3 separate regions of the Homo sapiens genome follow, and regions 2 and 3 are each linked to region 1. Evidence: promoter capture Hi-C in 16 types of primary human blood cells and fetal thymus (Javierre and others, 2016). All regions are on one chromosome and are shown on one strand. The core of a region is centred on a gene start or on the middle of the fragment in contact, and the rest is flanking DNA. Distances in the headings are between cores, read along the strand shown. Region 1 holds the start of FCRL1 (Fc receptor like 1). Region 2 holds the start of FCRL4 (Fc receptor like 4). Region 3 overlaps FCRL4 (Fc receptor like 4).

Region 1 (4,617 bases), core at 1,877-4,376:
AAATAACAGGAAGAGACATTTCAAGGAAGAAAATATACAAAGGGCTAATAAACACATGAGAAATGTTTAGCTTCATTGGCCGCCAAGAAATGCAAATTAAACTCATAAGATATCTCTACACATGCATTGAATTGGCTTTAAAAAAGGAGTTGGAGAGGATATGGAGAAACTGGAATTCAGACTGCTGGTGGGAATGTAAAATAGTAAAAATCAAGTAGGGAAGTAATTTAAGTTTCCTGAAAACATAAGCATATTCTCATTCAATAATTCCACCCTGGAATAGTCACCCAAAATTTTGTACATGAATGTTTATAGCAGCTTTATTCATACTACATGGATGAATCTCAAAAATATTATGCAAAAGGAAAGAACTTAGAAACAAAAGAGTAAATATTATATGTTTCAATTTGTAGGAAATTCTAGAAAAGGCAAATCAAATCTATAGAAAGCAGATGGAGAGTTACCTGGTTCTGGGAGGTTTGGGGTGACTGGGAAGGCACACAAGGAAACCCATTGAGATGATGGAAATGTTCTAGATCATGACAGTGATTGCTTTTACATCAGTGTGTATGTTTGTCAAAAATCATTGAATCATATACTTATGATGGGTTCATTTCAATGTATATTAATTATAACTCGATAAGCTGATTTTTAAGAAAGAGAACTATAAACAAAATATTCAGAGTGGTAATTACTTCTGGAGAGTACACGAGGAGTGGGTTAGAAAAGGCACACTCAAGTAGATGTAATAGTATCATGTTATGTTCAAGTTCTTTTTTTTTTTTTTTTTTTTTTTTTTTTTTTTTGAGACGGAGTCTCGCTCTGTCACCCAGGCTGGAGTGCAGTGGCGCGATCTCGGCTCACTGCAAGCTCCGCCTCCCGGGTTCACGCCATTCTCCTGCCTCAGCCTCCCGCGCAGCTGGGACTACAGGCGCCCGCCACCACGCCCGGCTAATTTTTTGTGTTTTTTAGTAGAGACGGGGTTTCACTGTGTTAGCCAGGATGGTCTCGATCTCCTGACCTCGTGATCCGCCCGCCTTATGTTCAAGTTCTTAAAACAGTCTGGGGATAGGCTCATGGCTTTTCATTTCATCGTAGTATTTCATAATTTATATTCATGTTACTTTTTTGTATGCATGCATGAACTATCACATTATAAAAATAAAAGTGTGAGAGAGCTTAACAAATAAAATGTTATAGCCTTTATATCTGTGGAGGAGGAAACACATTTTAATCTGAACATCTTGTGAAGGCACTGGAGCAGGACACACAGGAAGAGATGTGATGAGAATCAACCTAAGACCCCAACAACAGATGAATCCATAAAGAAAATGTGGTGTATATATACAACGGAATACCATTCAGCCATACAAAATGAAATCCTGTCATTTGTGACAACATGATGAAGCTGGAGGACATCATGTTAAGTGAACCAAGCCAGACACAGAAAGACAAATACCACATGAACTTACTTATATGTGGAATCTGAAAAAAATAAGAAGTTGATATTATGGAAGTATAGCATAGAATAGCATCTATCAGAGACTGAGGAGGGAATGAGGAGGGAAGAGAGGGAAAGATTGGTCAACAGGTACAAGGTGCCAATTCGATAGGAGGAATAAGGTTTGGTGTTTTATTGCACAGTAGGGTAACTATGGTTACTAGTAAGGTATTATATATTACAAAATAGCTAGGAAAGAGGCTTTTGAATGTTCTCACCACATAGAAATGAAAACTGCACGAGACAATGGATATGCCAACCACCCTGATTTGATCATCACTGTACAACATATATATGTATTATATTGCAATGTCAAACTGTGCCCCATAAATATGTACAATTACAATGTGTCAATTAAAACATTAAAAAAACCAACAGATTAAAAGAAAAAGAGAGAGATGAAACAGCAGAGTGTATGCAAAAACAGCTTTACACCCTGGATTTAAAGGGCTCTACATTCTCATTCAGGAGATTTTTTTGCATTGGTCCTGAAACTTTACACTAAACAAGCTTATCCCCACACAGGCTTTCCTAAGCCAATAAATAAAGCTATGGAATACCTATTCGTTTTCAGCACTTTCGCTGTTAGCCTGGTTACCAACATTGCTCCCTTTTCCCTCTGGTTTTGCGTATCACTGAATAGTTTCTTTTCTCAGTCATACTCATTGAGCTGGATACCTGGACTTAGACATCATTGCCTGACAGCATCTTTCCCCTAATAGGTTACTTTCCACACATTCTAGTTATTCTTAATCCTAGACACTCACGGATTTAAGAAATGTTGAAAATTAAGATAGCTTATTCTCCTCCAATCCCTAATCTAGGCTTCACTTGCCTAGAACTGGTATCCCTAATGTGCTAAAGGTAGCAATGGGAGAGATTATAGGTGCCCTGATTTTGAGGGAAAAGAGGGGCAATTTTACAAATGCCAGAGTTAGTACTAATGGTGAACCCTTCTCAAGTGCCCTGAAGCTAATTTGCATATACTTCTTTTCTGTATTTCATTTTCAAATATCCCCCAGATTGTAATTTGCCGTGATTTTATTTTTCAGTGATTTCATGCTCATTTACTGGTACACTGAAAGTTTGAATATCAAAGCGTATATCTGTATGAATAGGTTGACCCTGTACATAAGTCATCATATGCAGCAAGGGTCAGACACTACACATAACCGGGGTGACAGCCCCATCAGTCCCTGATTTAATGACATGTTTGCATAATATGACTATACTAGAGAAAGTTTGCATAGTGGGACTATATTGCTGAGCAAGAAGAATGTGCCAATTAGAAACAATCCAGGAGACATCCCTATCAAAGGTGAAAAGTATTGTAGATGTATCAAAGATGAATTTCAGCAGGACCATAACCTGATGAGACTCATCAAAGTAGGAAACTGCCTTTAGAAAACTTCCTTTGAAATACCTGAATTCTTGAAAAAGTCCCTCAAATATTGATGTGTACTATCTGCAGCTTGTGGAACTGAATCAAACTATATTTAAAAAGGAGCATCTTTAATTTTCTCAGACTTCATAGAAAAGGAAATGGAGACTGGTCACTAGAGGGTTCTTCTTCCTTCTACTTCTGCTGAAGGGTAACTTCCGATATCAACTTCCTCAAACCTCTGATGAGCTGCTGCTGCTCGACTCTGAGGTGCATTCTTTTTTTGATGAGAGGCATCTCTAGGTACCATCCCTGACCTGGTCCTCATGCTGCCGAGGCTGTTGCTGTTGATCTGTGGTGAGTTGGGCAACTCAGAGCAGGGCATGGGATGCAATCATGCTTGGGCTCTGCTTCCTGAAGGGCTGTAAGGACTTCTTAGGACTAAGGTTCTGTCAGGTAATGCTCAGGGGTGCTCAGATCTCCACTTCCACGGAGGGCTCAGAGTCAGGCAAAAAGTTGTAGATATTTCAAAAAGCCAGAGTTTTCAAGAAAACTATCATTTCAGTTTTTATCTCATAGGAAGTGTTCACTGTCTGTCTTCCTTTCCATCAATAATTGTCTTTGTTCTCAGTGTTTTCAACAGCTGCCAAAAGAAAAATCTGTATAATAAATAGGCCTCTGAATTCCTTGCCCTTCTTACTACCAACGTTATTTCCTTTTATCCCTCTCTGACTCCCCATTCCCACAGTCAAACCTTAGAACTTATCATCACTCCTTTGTTTTCAGCATACATCCCCCACCCCCACTAAGTTGTGTTTCTAGCTCACTTTCTCCTGCACTCTATTTCCAACATGACTTCAATTACCCCAGGGCTACTTTTCCATTATCAGTAACTACACTTCATGTGCTCACTTCTCATGGTGCTCAGCTCAGATTCTGCAGCTCACCACCACAACACTCCCTCGAGCACACCTTCATCTCTCTTCCCCCATAGCACTCTCCTGGTTTACACGCCCTTCTGCATGCTTCACTCCTGGACATAAACAGCTGAATGGGATTTTTTTTTAAATGCACAACCCTGATGACTTATCCCCTTTTAAGTGTAGGACCCCCAAATCTCAGGTAGCCAACAGCAATGCCAGGCAATTATCCTACATGTTCACAGTCCATGTTGCTCCATTATCACTATTGCATACCTTATCCTGTCACCTCATACTTCTCTGTTCACTCTCATTGTGTAATCTTGCTTCATATTTCATTGAGAAAATAAAAGCAGTCAGAAGAAAACTCTCTCATCTTTCTGTTGCTGTTGACCTACTCACCTCTGCATTCACATACACTGCCTTCTCTTCCCCTACCACGAATATATTGCCCCTCATCTTGTTGATGACAAGACTCTCCACTTGTGCATTAGGCCCATGACCCTCTTACTTTCTCAAAAAGTTTGCTCCATCATCAATATGTTTCTTCATTCTAAATTATTCCCATAAGTATACAAACATGCTACAGTATCTTTTATTAAAAACAGCTTTATTGAAATATTATTCACATATAATACAATTCACCATTTAAGTTATGCAATCCAATGGTTTTTTATGACAATCACTGAGTGGTGCAACTATCACCACAATCAATTTCAGAATGTTTTCATCACCCAAGAAAGAACGCCATACCCACTAGCAGGCATCCCCAATTTTTTTTCCAACGCCTCACCTATCCTCACCCCTCTATTTTC
Region 2 (4,977 bases), core at 1,547-4,046, 220 kb after region 1:
CATGGTGTTTCTTTTTTTTTGCCATTAACATTTTATATATATATATATATATATATATATATATATATATATATATACACATACATATACACAAGATAATAGCATAAAAAAGTTTTAAAGAGTTATACATACCAAAATATTATACGTACCAAAAAACGTCACTACGGATTTTTCCATTTTTTTCTTAATTTTTTTTTTAAGTTCTGGGATACATGAGCAGAGTGTGCAGGTTTGTTATGGGTAGGGAGAGCATTAGGTGTTTCTCAAAACACCAAACAGCATGTTGCCCAGTGTGAAAGAATCCAAATGGCAAAAATCAAAATTTAATAGAATTATTTAAATACCCACTCTGACTTCCTGACGTGAATCGCTTCTCAAGGCTAAAGCCATCATATTTTCAGAACTCTCTAGCCTCTTGTCTTTCAAGGAAATCACAACTTCTTCTCTCTGCCACCAGATACCAGGCATATGTATTTCAATCAATATATATTTGCCAAGACATTCCTGTAGCAAATTTTGGATTCTAGGACATTAAGTAAAAATGTTATGGCCTATTATCTAGGAAGAGCATGATGGGGCTATAATTTACTCCTCAGCTTGCCTTCTACTCAGATCAAAAGTTGTGGTTTCCCCCTGGACTGATGAGTCAGGATATTTTCATATATATCAGACAAGGTGAGAGTTGTCTTGTGATTGAGATGTTTCATCAGGTCTACAGACGGCCTGCTGGAGGTGTTCCAGTAGAGGTATCAGCGGTCAGAGGAGGCCTTTTCTGTGTTGAATGAGAAATTCTTCATCTCTGGGGATATTCAGGGACATCCTTAGATTATGTGGATTTCAATAGGCCTGCAATCTCACCTCATCTCTAGTAGCAGAGAGAATAGGTTGTGATTTCCTTGAAAGACAGAGCCTAGAGAGTTCTGAAACTAGAGTAGCTTTAGCCTTGAGAAGTGATTCACCCCAGGATGTCACAGCAGTACTTAATTCTATTAAATTTTGATTTTTGTGGTCTGGATTCTCTCACACTGGTCCACATTGCTGTTTGGTGTTTTCAGAAAGATTCCTCTACTTCCCCCTTTCACTTCATTATCTCAATCAGCTTTATGCAGAGAAGAAGCTTACTGAGCTCACTGCTGGTGCTGGTGTAGGCAAGTGCTGCTTTGGCAATCTGGGCTGACCTGGCTTGTCTCCTCAGAACTCCTTCTCCAATCCTGGAGCAGGCTTCCATGCTGCTGTGGGCGTCCTTGCTGGCCTTTGGTAAGTGATGGGGAGGAGACCTTTGCTTGCTGCAAAGCTGAGCCTCACCATGAGCAAAAGCCCTCTTTTCTGCTGCTGCAATCATGGATTTTTACTCCCATTTTAGAACAGCAGAAAATGAACAAAAAGGAAAGATAATGATTTACTGGTAGAAGGGGAAAATGATAATAATTGATTTCCAAAGATGTATTTCTCATCTATTTTTGCTATGAATTGCCTATGGAAAATCATTTTACCCCCAAATGGACTTATTTTGTTTATGCAAAAAGAAACCTATGGCTAGGTTCAGTCCCTACGTCACAGAGCATGAGGACCCAGAGGAAAAGATGGACTGAGTTATTTGTGAAGGATAAAGTCCTGATTGTGAACTCAGGTAGAAAGGATCACCTGCTGAGAATAGTTATTTCCTTCTCTGTATTCTAAGTTCAAACCTGTTCTGATGTTTGCAAAGAGCATGAGAAGAGAAGAGATAAGATGATTTCCCTTTGATTTTTTTCTTCCTGCTTTTGTACCACTTGTCAGTGTTTGTCCAAATGAGGCACGGATTTCCTAGTTGCTCAAACTAGGGAATTAAAGAACAGTCAGTCTTTTGTTCATTAAATATTTATTAAGCGTATTTGTCTAGTTCCCACCTGATCCCCAGACCCCAACTAAGGGAAGACCTATTAGTGTGATTGGCACATGATAGGAACTAAGGAGTGAGTGGATGGGTATACTTGGCATGCCACACTGCTGGGCACCACAGAGGATGCAGAGACCTGAAGGACACAGATTCTGCCCTCAAGAGGTGACATTCTCAATAGAACCTCAACGTACACATGCAAGAACATCTGACTCGACAATATGAGAAAAATATTACACAAATAGTTACAGGATAATGTGTGAGGATGTCAGTTAATTTGTGCTAAGCCCTGGCTACATCCCACTTTTCTAAGGGCACCCCATGTATAAATGTATCCAATTCTCTAACATTTGATCAGGTGGAACTTTTATAACTCCCATTTACAAATGAGGAAATGAAGGCACAAAGATGTTGGTCTTGTCCCTGAGGTTTATGCAGCTAGTACAGTGGCAGAGTCAGGATTCGAACCCATAATCTAACTTTGGAAACTAGGCTTTTAACTACTACCCTCTACTGTCTGTCTCATTTTGAGTTCCAAATTAGCTATGATAATAAGTGTTCTGAGTCAAGAGAAGAGGAATCAGCAGCAGCCCCATACTAAAAAATTAATGACAGCAGCCATTAATTGAAACCTTACTGATCTAACTCATTACAGTATTACTATGAGGTCGCTTTCATGAGCCTCATTTTTCAAATGAGAAAACTGAGACTTGAAAGTTCATGTGGTTTGCCCTGGGTCATACAGCTAAAATTCAAACCAGACTGTCTGAGTCCACAGCCTGAGCGTCTGGCCACTGTGTTTCCCCGCTTCCCTGGGATGGATGGAATGGAACGTGTTTCTCTTCCTCTTGGTTGGAAGTAGCATATGAGTGTATGGGCTCTCAGGGTGAATAGTTCGGGACTCTTCGCCTACGCTGATGGCTGGCTCTTTACTCTCTTTCAGCTCCAGTCTGTGGACAATCTGGTAAGTCCTTATTTTCTTTGCTCCTTTATGTCTCTAGATACCCTAATAACTATATTTTATCTCAAATACTTACAAGAGTCCCTGTTGTCCATTTCATCCTTTTCCTGAGTGCTGCAGGGATGTAGAGACATCAGCTCGTGTGGTGACTCTGACCCTAAGAACCAGGCTATTTGGGGGTGACTCTCTTAAACCAAAACTGCCATTGTGCTGGCTAAACATGGCAGGGCCTGGGATATGTGTCACAGCGTCCACAGGAAGAGGAGCTGTCACCCCGCCTGATGTGGGATTCTAGCCAAGCCTGATGGAATGCATAGCATCCCAAGAGGAAAAGGGTAGAAATAAGCCAATACTTCAGAGGGGGAGGCTGGGGCTCCAGCAGCTTTTCCACTAACCATGTGTAACAAATTTATCCCCAACTTCTGCATCCCATGGAGACACACTTCTCTGTTAATAGCTCAAATTATGATGACTCTGAGTCTCCATCTATCCTACTGGTCAGCAAAAAGTCCCATCCTCTATAGGCAGCTGCCTCACAGGTGTTTTGGCCATTCCTATAGAGCACCCTAGGAGCTGCTGGAGCCAGCAAGGGCCTTGGCCCCCTTGAGGTGCACTGTCTCTTGCAGCTCCTAACTCTGCTGTTCTTCCCCTCCTCGGTGCCTTGGACACAGACTATTTCCCACACACCCTTCCTGAGACAAGATTATAACTTGGCAGACTTTGCTAATGGTTCTAGAATGGGGAAATGAAATACAAAAAGTGCCTTGAATTAACTGCAGCTAGGGATGTGGTTAACCTCAGAGCCCATCAACTCAGTCTCAAACACACGAAGGCCATGAAAAGTTATGTCCCTTCCTGGCCATAGGGCCACCTGCACATAGCAGGGGCAGCTTCCTCAGAGCAAAGAAGAGTCTAGTTGCATACATCAAAGGAAATCAACTCTCCTTCCCTCCAGTAGAAGACCTATTGCCTAAGTCCCAATGGCCCTGCATCCAGGTGCTTCCCAGGAATATAGCTGGTAGGGTTTTCTATTCTCTTCAGCAGAAACACAGCCCCATTCCCACTGATGACATAGAGTATTCTGTCCAAACCTTTAAAGACAGAATTTTCTTTTTAAAAAGTGTCTGCAGAGGCTGGGCACAGTGGCTCATGCCTGTAATCCCAGCACTTCGGGAGGCTGAGGTGGGTGGATCACTTGACGTCAGGAGCTCAAGACCAGCCTGGACAACATGGTGAAACCTCATCTCTACTGAAAATACAAAAAATTAGCCGGTTGTGGTGGCACATGCCTGTAATCCCAGTTACTCAGGAGGCTGGGGCAGGAGAATCACTTGAACCCAGGAGGTGGAGGTTGCAATGAGCTGAGATCAGGCCACTGCAGTCCAGCCTGGGCAAGAGTAAGACTCTATCTGAAAAATAAAATAAAATAAATTCTGCAGAGACACAGAGATGTTTCACCTTACCAAACAGAACATTTAGCTTCTTCATGTAAAACATGCAGTTGGGTTATTTTACAATTTTCTTTTTCCCCTCAAACAGAGGAAGGGCATTTTCTTCACATTTAGATGTAACTAAAAGATCTATTTGGGAAGTTCTTCTGGGCAAAGGCAAGAATGTTTAAAGTTTTAAGCTTTAAAAAAGTAATTGCCTGAAAATCTTTAAATGTAGACAGTCCTCATCTGAGTAAAAAAGGTTCCAAGGAGAAAATAATTTATTCTATTAAAAATTTCATAGTAAATAGCAATCCCCAAAATTGAGATTTTATTTTTGAAAATTAATACAAATGAAAACAATTTGTTTTATTTTCTACTTCACAGAAGTTACATTACCACAGGCAATTTGTAGGGCAAAGCATGAATCTAATATTGACTTTTCAAAATGTGGTAGCTGCCACAGCTCCAGGCATCATGACTTTGTTCAAGGCAGAAAATGGGGAGAAGTAGGGAGACAGGTGGAGAAGGGAAGTGAAGCTGTCAAAGAGCACCCAGTGTGCATCTCTTCTTTCAAATAAAGGAAGAAGATTTTCCCAGAATCCCTATTCCCTAGTCCATCCCTAGCATTATTTCTCTGACATCCCTTTATTCAGACCTGGATCATGTAGGTGGGAAAGTTAATACTTCATTTTTTCAAACACATT
Region 3 (4,825 bases), core at 2,279-4,778, 240 kb after region 1:
ATGTTCTCTGTCAATTCTGTGGTACCTGTGTCTGAGGTCTGAATTTGGTTTACCTGGGGACCAAGAATACATATGGGAAAGTACCACGCCCCACTCTCCACTCTCTGTCCCTCTGTCATGCTTTTTGCTCTTTAGCGCATCACTACAGGGCACGGTATAAATTTATTTATTTGTTTATGGCTTGTCTCCCCTCCCTGGGTTATAAACTCAAGAGCCGGGACTTTAACGTCTTGTTCACTCTTGGGTCTTCAAGGGTTAGGTCAATGCCCAGCACAGGGCAGCCTCAGTAAATATTTGTTGTATAAATAAGTAAATTGAATGAAACCTCCTTTTCCGTGGATGAAAGGATAGGAGAACGGACCCCATGGAAATATCAAAAGCCCCTAACAATTTATTGATTATGTGTACTTTTCCATCCGTTTTTTTCTCTCCTGCCCTTCAGAGCACACAGGCACAGGCTTCTATGAGGAAGGAGGCTGATGCCATTTCATCGTGGTGTCCCAATGCGGAGCAATCTCAGAGTTACTGTTGGTTCAACTGGTGCCATAATCAGTGGTGCAATTTTCATTCTCTCTCAGGCAGTTTGCTGTTCCTAAGTTAGGTGCTGCCAAGCCATGATCCCACAGTATCTCTCCAGGTGTCTGGGGGCAATTTGCAGGAAGCCAGCTTACCAGAATACAACATTAGGATTTCCCCTAAATTGTTAGTTTCTAAAATGATTCACTGAAGGTAGAGGGAGCTGCTGTTTCCTCTTGCACTCAGGCCCTGGCCCACCCAATGTGAGCTTTTCTGGCCAAAACCTGGCCCAAGATGTCTTTATGAGACCTAGTCCTTTAGATTTTTCTCTCTTCCAGGGCTCGTTACCCAACCAAGCTGAGGAAAAGGCAATCCCAAACCCTGAACCTCTCCACTGAGATTCACACAGGTCCTTTCCCCTTAGAGACCCCAGGCAACAGAGATGGCCTTGTCGCCGCGGGAGCCACTGGAGGGCTGCTCAGTGCTCTTCTCCTGGCTGTGGCCCTGCTGTTTCACTGCTGGCGTCGGAGGAAGTCAGGTTTGTGCTCTTTTCTTTGCCACAGTTCCTGCCCTGTTCCTTCCCCTGAACTCAGCATGCAGACAGCCTTAGTGGCCACCAGGCCACCACTCCCAAGTCTCCACTCCCAAGTCTCCACTCCCAGCGTTCACACACACTCACGTCCGTCCCTTCCTTAAGGGGCAGTTTTGCAAACAGAAGCCATGAATGAGAGCTGCTCATATCTAGTCTGATTGGCTAAGTCTCAGTGAAGGGGAGGAAGAGTGAAATTTTTAATGTAAAGTTCCAAAAACTTTATCTGAACAGTTTACTTAGGCAGTTTCTTTGGTTCATATAGACTGGCCAGTTAGATACTTCAGCCTATCCTAAATCCACCATAAATGGAGATTCAGAATGAACTAAAGGCTCTGCAGAAATGATTGAGAATAAGAGCTGGCTAATTTTATCCTTCTGTCCCCTCAGGGGCTTTTCTGGGTCTGGCTTTTCAGGGGCTTTTCTGAGCAGGCTTGAGCCTGCCATCTGGTGCTCCAGTGGCCCCTCTCTCCTCAGGTCAGCCTCCCCTGCCTCTTGGAGATGGTCTGTCCCAGGCACTGTTTGCTGCGTGCTTCCAAAGACTTCTTGCCTCAGCCCACCTCAGGCTGGCTTTAGATGCCAAGAAACCTGGTGTAGAAGACAGGAGCAGAACCTTTTTCAGCTCTAGAATAATTACCCACATCCTTCAACTCTGTCTCTTAATTCAATTCAACTTTCCAGATTCCTGACAGCACCTTCTGTGTGTCCTGCATTGAACTGGAGGTAGGGAGCTTTGGACCTCTGACCAATTCTCCTTAGTGGGGCTGAGTCAGAGCCCAGTGCTCCTCTGGGCATGGCCACAGATGTTCCTCGAAGTTCACCCACAGCTCACTACTCTCCAAGTGACACTTTTGTTATATGTAATGTTTCCTGAGGGATTTCAACACAGACTTGAGTCTTAATAAATTCTCAGACAATTACATACTTAACTCAGGAGTGTGCAGTCCTGGCCTCAAAAAGTTATATGCTTTGTACAATCTTTTTTTCACCTCATTTTCATGAAAACCCAGGACTGGGCAGGTGTTTGAATTGACTGTCTTGATTACCTCTCTTAGATAGCTCCTGTTACATGAAGTCATTGAGAAAGAGCTCCCTCTGCTGACAAAAATGCGTCTTTGCTTTATTTTGCAGGAGTTGGTTTCTTGGGAGACGAAACCAGGTGAGACCTCAGTTTCTGCCATTCCTTTTTAGTTTCCCGAGTACACAATATGCAAAACTGTGGGGTTATGAAATTAGGTCAAGTTATACCTCTTTGGCCCTGTGGCTAGATACTTCCATTTTCACACTCCATGAATTTGTCAAAAATGAAGCTTCCTAGAACTTTGCTTGTCAGCTAATAGTTTGCAATACATGCAAAATAATAGATTTCTTATTTGATCTTAACCTACTCATCTAAATGGATAATACCAAAGGTTATAAAGTACAGAATATTTCTTGTACTATAATTAAGTTAGACAATGTGTTACTATAATTATGCATACAATGACTAGAGTCTAGATTTTCTACAAATGTTCTAGGTTTTCCAGAGAACTCTATGTTTCTAATAATCTTCTTTTTGCACCATACACGCATATATACTCATTAAACGTTATGTGCTTAACTTCCATTTGGAAAATACTGTCATCTTCCTCCTTCTATGTCAGTGTCTCAGTCTTAGGTAAGGAATAAGAGTGTGGATTATGTCTAATTCCTTCTTGGATTGTACAGACATTACAATGTAAAGACATTTTATGTATGTATGTATGTATGTATGTATGTATGTATGTATGTATGTATGTATTGTCACCCAGGCTGGAGTGCAGTGGCACGATCTTAGCTCATGGCAACCTCCGCCTCCCAGGTTCAAGTGAGTCTTGTGCCTCAGCTTCCAAAGTAGCTGGGATTACAGGCATGAGCCACCACATCTAGCTAATTTTTGTATTTTTAGTAGAGACCAGGTTTCACAATGTTGGCTGGGCTGGTCTCAAACTCCTGGCTTCAAGTGATCTGCCCGCCTCGGCCTCCCAAAGTGCTGGGATTACAGGTGTGAGCCACTGCACCAGGCCAACAGTAAAGTAAAGACATTTAATCACTACTTCCTGATGATGAAGAAGCCATTATGTATATATTTGAGACAGGATCTGGCTCTGTCACCCAGGCTGGAGTGCAATGGCATCATCTCAGTTTCCTGCAGTCTTGACCTGCCAGGCTTAAGCAATCCTCCCACCTCAGCCTCCCAAGTATCTAGGACTACAGGTGCATGTCACCATGCCTGGCCAACTTTATTTTATTCTGTGTAGAGACAAGGTCTCACTATGTTGCCCAGGCTGGAAAGCCAGTATTTTTTAACCAAACAAGAGTAATCATTCTGACTATGAGACGATGATTGTTACGATGATGTCAGAGACTCCCTAACCTTGTTTCCAGGCAGCCTGTCCATACCACAGCTCCAGGGTTTTTTTAAAAAGAACAGTCTCACTCTATATAGACCTATTGAAACTCTGATTAAACCATTCAGGCTTTCCAGTTCCCTACTGGCTGCTGACTTTCTCCAAATCCTCTTTCTCCTCTGCCGCTCTCCCTGGGTATCTCACTCTCCCGCATGTTACAGTGTTCCAGGGATTATTATGTGTTTCTGTGTCTCACAGGCTCCCTCCCGCTCCAGGCCCAGGAGAGTCCTCCCATTCCATCTGCCCTGCCCAGGTGGAGCTTCAGTCGTTGTATGTTGATGGTGAGGATTCCCTTCTAGGAAGCTGTTCCTGGCCTCAGCCATGGAAAGATAATGCGCTTTCAGCCCTGGGAAATGCCCCTGGACTCCCTAAAGTGTCCCAAATCCAGATATTCCCAGATAATTGTTCCATTATGTGTCCAAGAAGAGTGGAGATGATGCTTAGGAAGAGGCATCTGTAGCACTTTAATACTAACAGGAACAGCCTTGAAAATGTCTTTTCTTTCCAGTACACCCCAAAAAGGGAGATTTGGTATACTCTGAGATCCAGACTACTCAGCTGGGAGAAGAAGAGGAAGGTACGTCTTTGGGAAGAGATTCTGGCTGCAAACTATATTCATTCATTCAACAAATATTTACTGAGCACCTCCTATGTGCTAGGTATTCTTGTAAGTATGGGAAGTCAATCAGTAAACAAGGCAGACAAAAATCCCTGCAGTGGAGAGCTTAGATTCTAAGGAGGGAAGATAGGCACTGAAATACACACAGTATACTTTTGCTGATGATCAGGATGAAAATTAAGCATCCTTCTGATAGATATTGTGATCATTATAGTGTATGTACTAAGGTCTCCCTTAGGTCTGAATGAATAAATGTTTGTAAAATGTCTACTATGTGGTAAGCATTGTGCTGAGAATATATATACATATATATATGTATACATACACATATATGTATATGCATGGCATTTTAATTAAGTGCTAGAAAATGTGATTTTTACAGTATTATATTCCTCTAATTACTGTCAGATTTTAAATTTTATATTGGAGCAAGGTAAGTTATTTGGAATGAGTTGGATCCTTTTGAGGCTTGCTTTTATTTAAGCTTTGTTAGGGTAAGTCTCGAGCAACCTTTAGAGTAGGGTTAATCTAGCCTGATAGTAAAGCAATGCATTTCTGGGGACTCTACATCAGATGGTCCATTAATTACAAAATCTGCATCAGCTTCTGGTATTATTCTGCCTGTTCTTTTCTGGTAGTTCTTACCCCGGCCTAAGATACTTTCATCTTACA

The links. The method cuts DNA at HindIII sites, captures the fragments that hold promoters and counts their contacts. A CHiCAGO score of 5 or more calls a contact.
Region 2: a contact is called between a fragment that was not itself captured here and the fragment with the promoter of FCRL1 in region 1, in 2 of 17 cell types (naive B cells and total B cells). The highest score is 6.4, in naive B cells.
Region 3: a contact is called between a fragment that was not itself captured here and the fragment with the promoter of FCRL1 in region 1, in 5 of 17 cell types (total B cells, naive B cells, M0 macrophages and 2 more). The highest score is 16.7, in total B cells.

What each region holds. Positions count from the first base shown.
Region 1 is chr1:157,818,629-157,823,245 of GRCh38, reverse strand. FCRL1 (Fc receptor like 1) reads left to right here and starts at 3,126. Exons shown (of 11, transcript NM_052938.5): 1 at 3,126-3,239. The coding sequence starts at 3,209. The HindIII fragment of the contact is 2,741 bases long and covers 2,014-4,617 here.
Region 2 is chr1:157,594,194-157,599,170 of GRCh38, reverse strand. FCRL4 (Fc receptor like 4) reads left to right here and starts at 1,086. Exons shown (of 12, transcript NM_031282.3): 1 at 1,086-1,257; 2 at 2,823-2,843. The coding sequence starts at 1,227. The HindIII fragment of the contact is 3,353 bases long and covers 1,120-4,472 here.
Region 3 is chr1:157,577,760-157,582,584 of GRCh38, reverse strand. FCRL4 (Fc receptor like 4) reads left to right here. Exons shown (of 12, transcript NM_031282.3): 7 at 941-1,054; 8 at 2,237-2,264; 9 at 3,733-3,815; 10 at 4,043-4,111. Among named protein-coding and RNA genes, the nearest start is that of FCRL4, 18 kb to the left of the region's middle. The HindIII fragment of the contact is 2,222 bases long and covers 2,418-4,639 here.